Regions from separate parts of the Homo sapiens genome. Here region 1 is linked to region 2. The links are contacts of gene promoters, found by promoter capture Hi-C in human tissues and cell types (Jung and others, 2019). All regions are on one chromosome and are shown on one strand. The core of a region is centred on a gene start or on the middle of the fragment in contact, and the rest is flanking DNA. Distances in the headings are between cores, read along the strand shown. Region 1 overlaps LOC124906098 (a long non-coding RNA gene). Region 2 holds the start of AGPS (alkylglycerone phosphate synthase).

What was found. Contacts are between HindIII fragments. The study calls those that stand out against the background at their distance.
Region 1: a fragment that was not itself captured here is called in contact with the fragment with the promoter of AGPS in region 2 in 1 of the 25 tissues and cell types used here (hippocampus).

Annotation. Positions count from the first base shown.
Region 1 is chr2:177,596,268-177,600,168 of GRCh38, reverse strand. LOC124906098 (a long non-coding RNA gene) reads left to right here. Exons shown (of 3, transcript XR_007087317.1): 3 at 2,036-3,761. Among named protein-coding and RNA genes, the nearest start is that of IFT70A-AS1, 4.8 kb to the left of the region's middle. The HindIII fragment of the contact is 5,513 bases long and covers 1-3,901 here.
Region 2 is chr2:177,391,222-177,394,882 of GRCh38, reverse strand. AGPS (alkylglycerone phosphate synthase) reads right to left here and starts at 2,110. Exons shown (of 20, transcript NM_003659.4): 1 at 1,834-2,110. The coding sequence starts at 2,093. LOC100130691 (Putative uncharacterized protein FLJ44553) reads left to right here and starts at 2,192. Exons shown (of 9, transcript NR_026966.1): 1 at 2,192-2,310. RefSeq lists silencers at 388-682, 1,891-2,110. The HindIII fragment of the contact is 5,797 bases long and covers 1-3,661 here.

The sequences.
Region 1 (3,901 bases), core at 1,282-3,781, 200 kb before region 2:
CATTCAAAAACACACTGTTTCCAGTGGAGTTGAATTCAGACAAAGTTCTGGCCTCTCTCCCCTATTGCAATAGCCTTGAATAAAGTCTTTCTTGCCTGTTTAAATTTTGGGGGTGCCACTTTTGCTTTAACGTCAAAAATGTAAATAAACTCAACTAAAATGTATTGTGTCCCTATAAACCCCGGTTGTTTTGCAGCATGAAAAGATCCATGATTAAACTGCAAAAGGCAAAATGCCTCTTGGTTTGTGCATCTTCCTGGGGGATCATGGGACAGTGAGTTACAGTTGACACAGGAAGGAGGGATGTCACCACTATCGTAACTGAAACATTGTCAGGGAGCAGCAAGAGGCTGGCTGGAGCTGGGCTGGGACAGAGCACCTGCCTCACCCCAGGCACAACTCTAAGCACTTTGCAAATAATTCCTCATTTAATTCTTACAACAACCTTATGAAACAGATTTTATTAGTAGCCCCATGTTTTCAGGTAAGGTACACCTCTGTCACCACAGACATTTGGTAAGCATAGAACAACTGGCACTTTGGTTCCAGGATTTGTGTTTTAACCACTAGCTTATACTTCTAGATTCTGCAGCTAGAACCAAAGAGCACAAAACCCCAAGGCGTGGTAGCGGGCCCACTGAGACCTGATCAGGTAACCAGGTACATGTCAGAGAAGTCTCTATGTCTCTACCAGAGAGCAGTTTCCTATTTCAGGACTAAAGCAGCCCACAACAGGGCCACCACAGCATCTACCTGTGATGTCCCCTGTCTCACAGAATAGGACAATTCTGCATCTCACCAATTCCTAAGGTCAGAGGGGGTTTCTTCATAAAAGGCTATGTAGGTTCTTCCTATAAATCTGCCTTCACATGACCACAAGGCTGGCAGTTCTAGGAAAAAAGCCTGTTTTTCTGCAAAGGGTGAACAAAGGTGGCAGTGTCTGAGAACAATTGAACAGTATCAAAGCTGCTTCCTCCAGGCAGTTCTGAGGTGACCCTGGCTGATCTCTGCAGTACGTGCTGAAACTGAAATAGCCTTGACTACCATCAAGGGCAAACTAGATTCTGCACTCAGTATGCTGAGTACCTTTTCCCCTTGCCACTTGCTCCCTTACAACTTACTTTCTTCCCTTGCTGCTTCAAAAAGTGTGGGAGAAGCCCTTTGATAGAGCAAGCTGATGCTTGCACAAAGAGAAGTAAAATTGCTTTTGCACCTCAACTACACAAAAACTAATCCCTTTACTGGGTCCCCAAGGCCCCCAGTGTAGCCCCTGGATGTCTCTGCCTGGATGGCTGTAGGCTGGGGCACCAGGTTCACCATTTCATTCTTTGAACCTTCCTTTTTCCATCTGTGAAAAGAGAATCTCAATATTTTGCCTAGTACTCTCCAGAGCTGTTATGAGGCTCAAATGAGATAATGTATGTAAAGCACTTTATAAACTGTAAAATGCTTTACAAATGTAAGGGATTATTATAAACCACAATACACTGATGTTTTATGCTTTTATAAAACTACTGGCTGGAACTGCTGTAAGGGGAATCCCTCTGGTGATTTTTATTTTGGAAACAGGAGGACTTGGGTTTGCCTCCTTGCCAGGAATTGGATTCCTGGCAGCAGCTGTTTATTCCATTTCACTCCGCAACACACATATGGCCACAGCACGCCTCCTGCAGAGCTGACAATATGTACTACTGTGTTTGAGCACATCCACGGAAAGCATCCTTTCTCCACCCTCACTATTTCTAACTTGCCAAGTCTAACACCTAGGAAATACAGACTTTCAAATCGCATTTCACCACAGCAACATTTGTTTTCTTAGATGAGGTTTTTCCTCCTTAGCAACCAGAATTTTGCAGTCAAACTTTCACCACGAAAACAGTTTTCTCTTGAGCAGATTGAAAAAATTGGATGCTGCTTTATTCAACCTTTGCCATGGTTAAAATGAAAATGATATTAATATTTGTCCTGAGACCGGGCTTGGACCAGCTGAAAAGGATTAAAGTACTAACACGTTCTTTTTTCCTTGTACCTGCAGTGCACAGATAGACTGGACCAGCGCTGGGTGACGGTGCTCAATCTTTCTGCTGCAATGGAATGGAGTGCACTGACGCTCTGCACAAATATCTGCACAGGGCAGTGTTATAGATAACCACTCACTGCTCCCTGAGGGGCTTGAGATCATTCGATGTCTAAGAACTACTACTGGCTTGTAAATGTCAAGAGAAATTATGAACATTTGTAGAAAAGTAACTGTTTGACTAATTTCCTGTTCCATGGAGCAAACACACTGCCCCATGTATTTAGAATCTGGTGCTGACAGCCAGGCCATGGCAAGCTTCAAGGTTATAGGATCATAAATGGGATTAGATAAGCCAGACAGTGCGGCTCAGACTCCAGCACTTTAAAAATATTATTAAAACCCCAGGAAAGGCAAACAATTTTGAAGGGAAAGTAAGATATAACAGACTCCCACCAAGAGAGAAAAGAATCTTGGATATGATACTGGAACTTGGTAACCCCTTCCCCCACCCACCCCCCGCTGCCCCCGCCAGAGCACTTCCAGAGTGTATGTTAGTTAGCATCAATCAACATTTTAGGACATAAGACATAATGCAACAAGTCATGCTTTGTAGCTCAGACAGATTTTTCTATTTGATTTGATCCATGACGAAAAAAAAAAATTTTAAGGAAAGAACAAAGAAAACTTACTGAGAAAACCAAAATCGACAATAAGAAGTCGCAGTTCCAGAGAGCAGAATGCAGTGCCCCACCTGGAAGCCTTTGTGTTTTAAATTATCTGTTTCTTTTTAATTGACCAGATTAATTATTTCCACCTTGCTACTTGGCAGGTAGGGTCACTATTCCTTTTTACAGCATTAATGAACTCATTCACTTTTTTTTCCATGTAATTAAGACTATGAGTTGCAGATCACATTCTTAAATCGGCTTAGTGTACAGCCAATTCAGTCTTTATTAAACAAAATATATGACATCAGGTATTTCTCACTGAAAAAGAGTGTTGAGTTTCTACTGAGTTTTCCTCCAGTTGAGAGAGGAGAGTGGTGACTTTGTTCTTTTTATTTTTTGGAGAAGAAACACAGACCTTGTAAAGGTTGTAGCCTCCAGGGTGGTGTTTCATTCTTAATAGACTCAAAGTCTGGAGATTTAAAGGGCAGCTGATGGATTCATGTTCAGGTATTTCTATTGCCACCAAAATTCTGACCAGGTCCTTTCATGAGCTATTTGAAAAGAAATAACTTTGGGTATGCTGTTAAGTTAGTTATGTGAAATATATTGCCCTCTTCTGTTAGCTTTATTTCTAGGCCATTTAGGAAGCCCTAGGAATATTAAGAGTTTCTCAGTACATTGACTACAGTAGCCGAACACAGTACAGAAGGCCGTTTGCGGTGTCTACAGTCCTCCAGAGAGCAAACTTTAAGGCAATGCAAACTATCTCCCAAAGCATTTGGTTTCATTCAAGACTTCTGGATCTCAAGTTGATTCCCAGAGGAACTCAATTTGGAAGTAAAGGGTAAGGTGCTTTAATCTTTCCAGGACCCAAATGAGATTTCCTCCATTAAATTGAGTCTGGTGGAGCACCTGATCGAGAGAGAAACTGATGGGCAGACATCAAGAAATTGATGAACAGACATCTTAATGCTGGTCCTCTTTGCCACTAGCAAAAGACAAGCAACATACATTTAAAATATTAGGAATACCAGTGCATTGTTTTTACATATTAAAAGCTTGTGAGAAATTCATTGCATTGTCTGAATACAATGGGATTGGAATCAAAGGTACAGCAACTGATGTTTTTCCATTTATTACTCCACTTCTTAGTAGAAATGGAATCTTCTAGTTACAGGTAATAACTCTGTGACAAAAATACTCAAGTATGTAA
Region 2 (3,661 bases), core at 861-3,360:
TCTCTGCCTTTAGACACTGTGAAAATTGCAGCTACCATTCTTTGAAAGGTTATGTAACAGGCATTGCACTAAACACTTGATCATTTAACTCTATTTTTTTCAATTCTCACAGCAACACTGCAAAACAGGATTACTGTTCCCGTTTTTACAAATGACGGTGACTGAAACTCTCAGAGGTTAAGTGATTTGCCCAAGATCATAGAGCTGTAACGGTGTAGTGGAAATTGAAATCCAGGTCTATGTTCCCAGCCATTATACTGCCAAAATGCTCAACTGTCTTCAATTTGCTCCCAGTGTGACCTTTATCAAAGGTAAATCTAATCATGTATTGCCCCACGTAAAATCCTGTAAACAAGATTCACCTCTCCAGTCTTCGTCCCCTGTCATTCTCACCCTCTCCTACTACACTTGAGTCTCAGCAGTTCCCTAATTTGTCTCTCACTTCTTTACCTGTGAACATACTGTTTGTATGCCAAGAACAATTTCCCCCTTTGGCAAACTATTAGTAATGCAAACATCCAAAATTTACTCAGACAATCTTTACTTTGGAACATCTTTGCACTAACAAACACAAACCCAAAACTGGGTTAAATGACCAGGTGGTATAGTTCCCAGTTAAGTTTCTTATAACGCTGTATTATAATTTTACCTACTAAGCTATTCCTTCCTTAAGAGTAAATACCGTATTTTTAAATTTCTGTATTGCTGGTACAGTGTGTATTTTGTAAAGACTCATGTATGTTGAATTAATTCATCAGAAGCAAGTATAGCTTAGGAACTTGGCCATGAAGTCAATTTGATGTGCTTTCAAATTCTAACCTGTCACACAGCATATCTGCTAAGACTCCAGCAGACTTAATTTATTCATCTGTAAAATGGGAGAAAACCGCACATACCTCATAGCTTGGGAAGAAACAAAGGATTTAGCACACTTTGGCACACTTAAAAGTACACTTTAAACATTAGCTACTTATTTTTTTCACTCTCGGTTTATCCATTTATCCACGGTGACAAAGCCACACGTCAGAAAGTAGCTTCTCCTAATAGCCTTCATCAGAGATTGAGGAGATCGAGACCATCCTGGCTAACACGGTGAAACCCTGTCTCTACTAAAAATACAAAAAAAAAAAAAAAGATTTCTCCAAAAACATCGAAAGTCAAGATCTCTTACAAACATCCCTCATCGGTTAGACTCTTGTCTTTTAGCTTCTGGTTACACAGAGCTCAGTAGCTATACCACCACACCTTAAACCACTAGCTAGTGTTTGCAGTTTATGGCTTCTTACCATTCATCGGTTTCCTCCCTCAAAGTCAATACATCTTGATCCTAAGCAAGTGGAACTTACCCCACAGAAACCAGTCAGCACCTTTTTCCAGGGCACCACCAGTTTCCCCCACAGCAGGCTTTCGCGAATGAGAGAGATTCCTATGATCTATCATCTAGTACAAATTTATATCTCCTCGGAGAAAAATAGAACCTCTGCTACCCATTCCAAGACCTCAGCACCAAAAGTATTAATTCAAGATAAAAAATGAATTCCTGGCACTAAAAGCTCAGGAAAAAGGAATCCTTTAAACCCTTCTCCAACGAGAGTTCTTCAAGCCTGTTACCCTCACATAGTGACCAAAATCCACCATCCCATCCCGCCCCCTTCCTGACAGAATCCAGGGTCTAGTCCACTCTCTCGAAAGAGAGGTGGGTCCCTACTTTCAGGGACCGGGATGCCTTCCGCCCACCCGTGTCACTTCCCTTCCCACCTCGCCTGTGCCCTCCTGCAGCACAGGCCCGGCCTGGTCCCTCGACGCTAACTCCTTCCACATACCGCTACTCACCGCTTCTTTGGGATGGTGCCCGACTCCTGCGCGGCGGGAGTGGCCGTGGGCGCTGCCGTGGCCGCCGACGCGGCTCTCCGCGCTTTGCACTCATTGGTACTCAGAGCCTCCCGGGGCCGGCCCAGCAGATGGCCAGAGAGAACCCGCAGCCTCCGCCCGGCGCGGTCCGGGTCCGGGTCCCGGTCCCGGTCCGCTGCAGACCCGTAGCTCGCGCCCGCGCCCAAGCCAGTCCCACCCGCTGCAGCCGCCGCCTCCGCCATGGCTACCGCCTTGTGCTGCCGCCCGGAACCGCTGGGCGCGGGTGAAAGGTCACTCAGAGCGGCGCCCGGCGCGACCATTCGCTGCGGCGCATCCCGGCAGCCACCGCGGCGACTTGGCGGCGGGTGCCATGCGTCTGGAGCTTCACATTCTCTGCCCCCCACCCACCGCGCCGGCGCTCCCTTGTCACGCCTCGGGAAGCGCGCACCTGCCAAGCAGGTGAGTTCGAGCTGACTCCCGGTTGGCCCAGCCCGGTCCAGCTGGACCGAGAGCCAAACCACGTCCGCCCTCGAGGTGTCCTAGAACCCTGGGTGGTGTCCTCGGGTGTGGCCTGGGGGCTTTCGAGGGCAGATGCCTTGGAGCAGGAGAAATGGGCAGTGCTACTGGACCTGATGGATCCAGCGGCATCCTTTTCCTGAAAGAGATTCTAATGTTCCACCTGTGCTCTTCCTCCCTGCGGGGTCACCAAAGTAACTCAAAGCTGACCATCATTGCCTCTAACCATTAGAGCAAATAGCTCTATCATTTTCTTATTTCTCACCACCTATTTCGTGCCTGGCACTGTGTTTAATGCTAGATCACAAGTAAGTACAGAAACTGAGTTGCAACTTAAGTTCTCATTTCATTCATTACTGGATCCTAACCCCTTCCTAACTTTAATAGAGATAAAGTTTCTTATTGCTACAGACAAAAATTACCCAAGAGCTGTGAAGACATCTCAGTTATTTACAGATTGAATTCATTTCTGGAAGATAGCACGTGAAAAGTGCTCCTCACCTGTTTCAGCCGGTGTCTTGCATAAGAATTAGCTTAGACAAAAACTCACATACACTGGCCATTGTCATTCTCCATCCTGTCACCACTTTCACATCATGCTTTCCTAACAAGAAAAATATTGGCAGAGGAATCTGAAGAACACCACATCCATGGGACTAGAGACTAACAATTGCTCTCTTGGGTGTTGCCAGCTTCTAAAATTGAGATTATGCCTTTAGAGTGAACTTCCAAAGAGGCCCAGACTGGTTAAAAACTCTCAATTAAGGGCTAAGCAAATTGCTGTTGGAGGGCCAGCTCTAGTCTGTGGCCTGTTTTTACACAGCCCTCATGCTAATGGTTTTTGTATTTGAGAAGGGTTGTTAAAAGAAAACAAGAAATTTTTTAAAAGAATATGCAACAGAGACCTTATGTGGTCCCAGAAGCCCCAAAATATGTATTACCTGGCCTTTACAGGAGGTCCGAATGTCTTCTGAAATTTATATACGAAGAGATACCAAACCATTGAAAACAGTCCAAATGTCTAGCAACAGAGAAATGGTTAGTCAATATGTTAAAATACTTTTGCAGCTATTAAAATAATTTAGTACAGTTGTAGAAACAAGAAAGAATTAGGAATTTGTTAAATATAAAAAATGGCCATAACCTAGGCATCTTATACGTATCTATTTAATCAATCTTTGCAGTAACACAATGACACAGTTTTATTATCCTTATTTTATAGATGAAGGCTCAAGGAGAGTAAGAAGCTTTTCTTAAATAGCTATATTTTATCTCAAATATCATATACTTCATG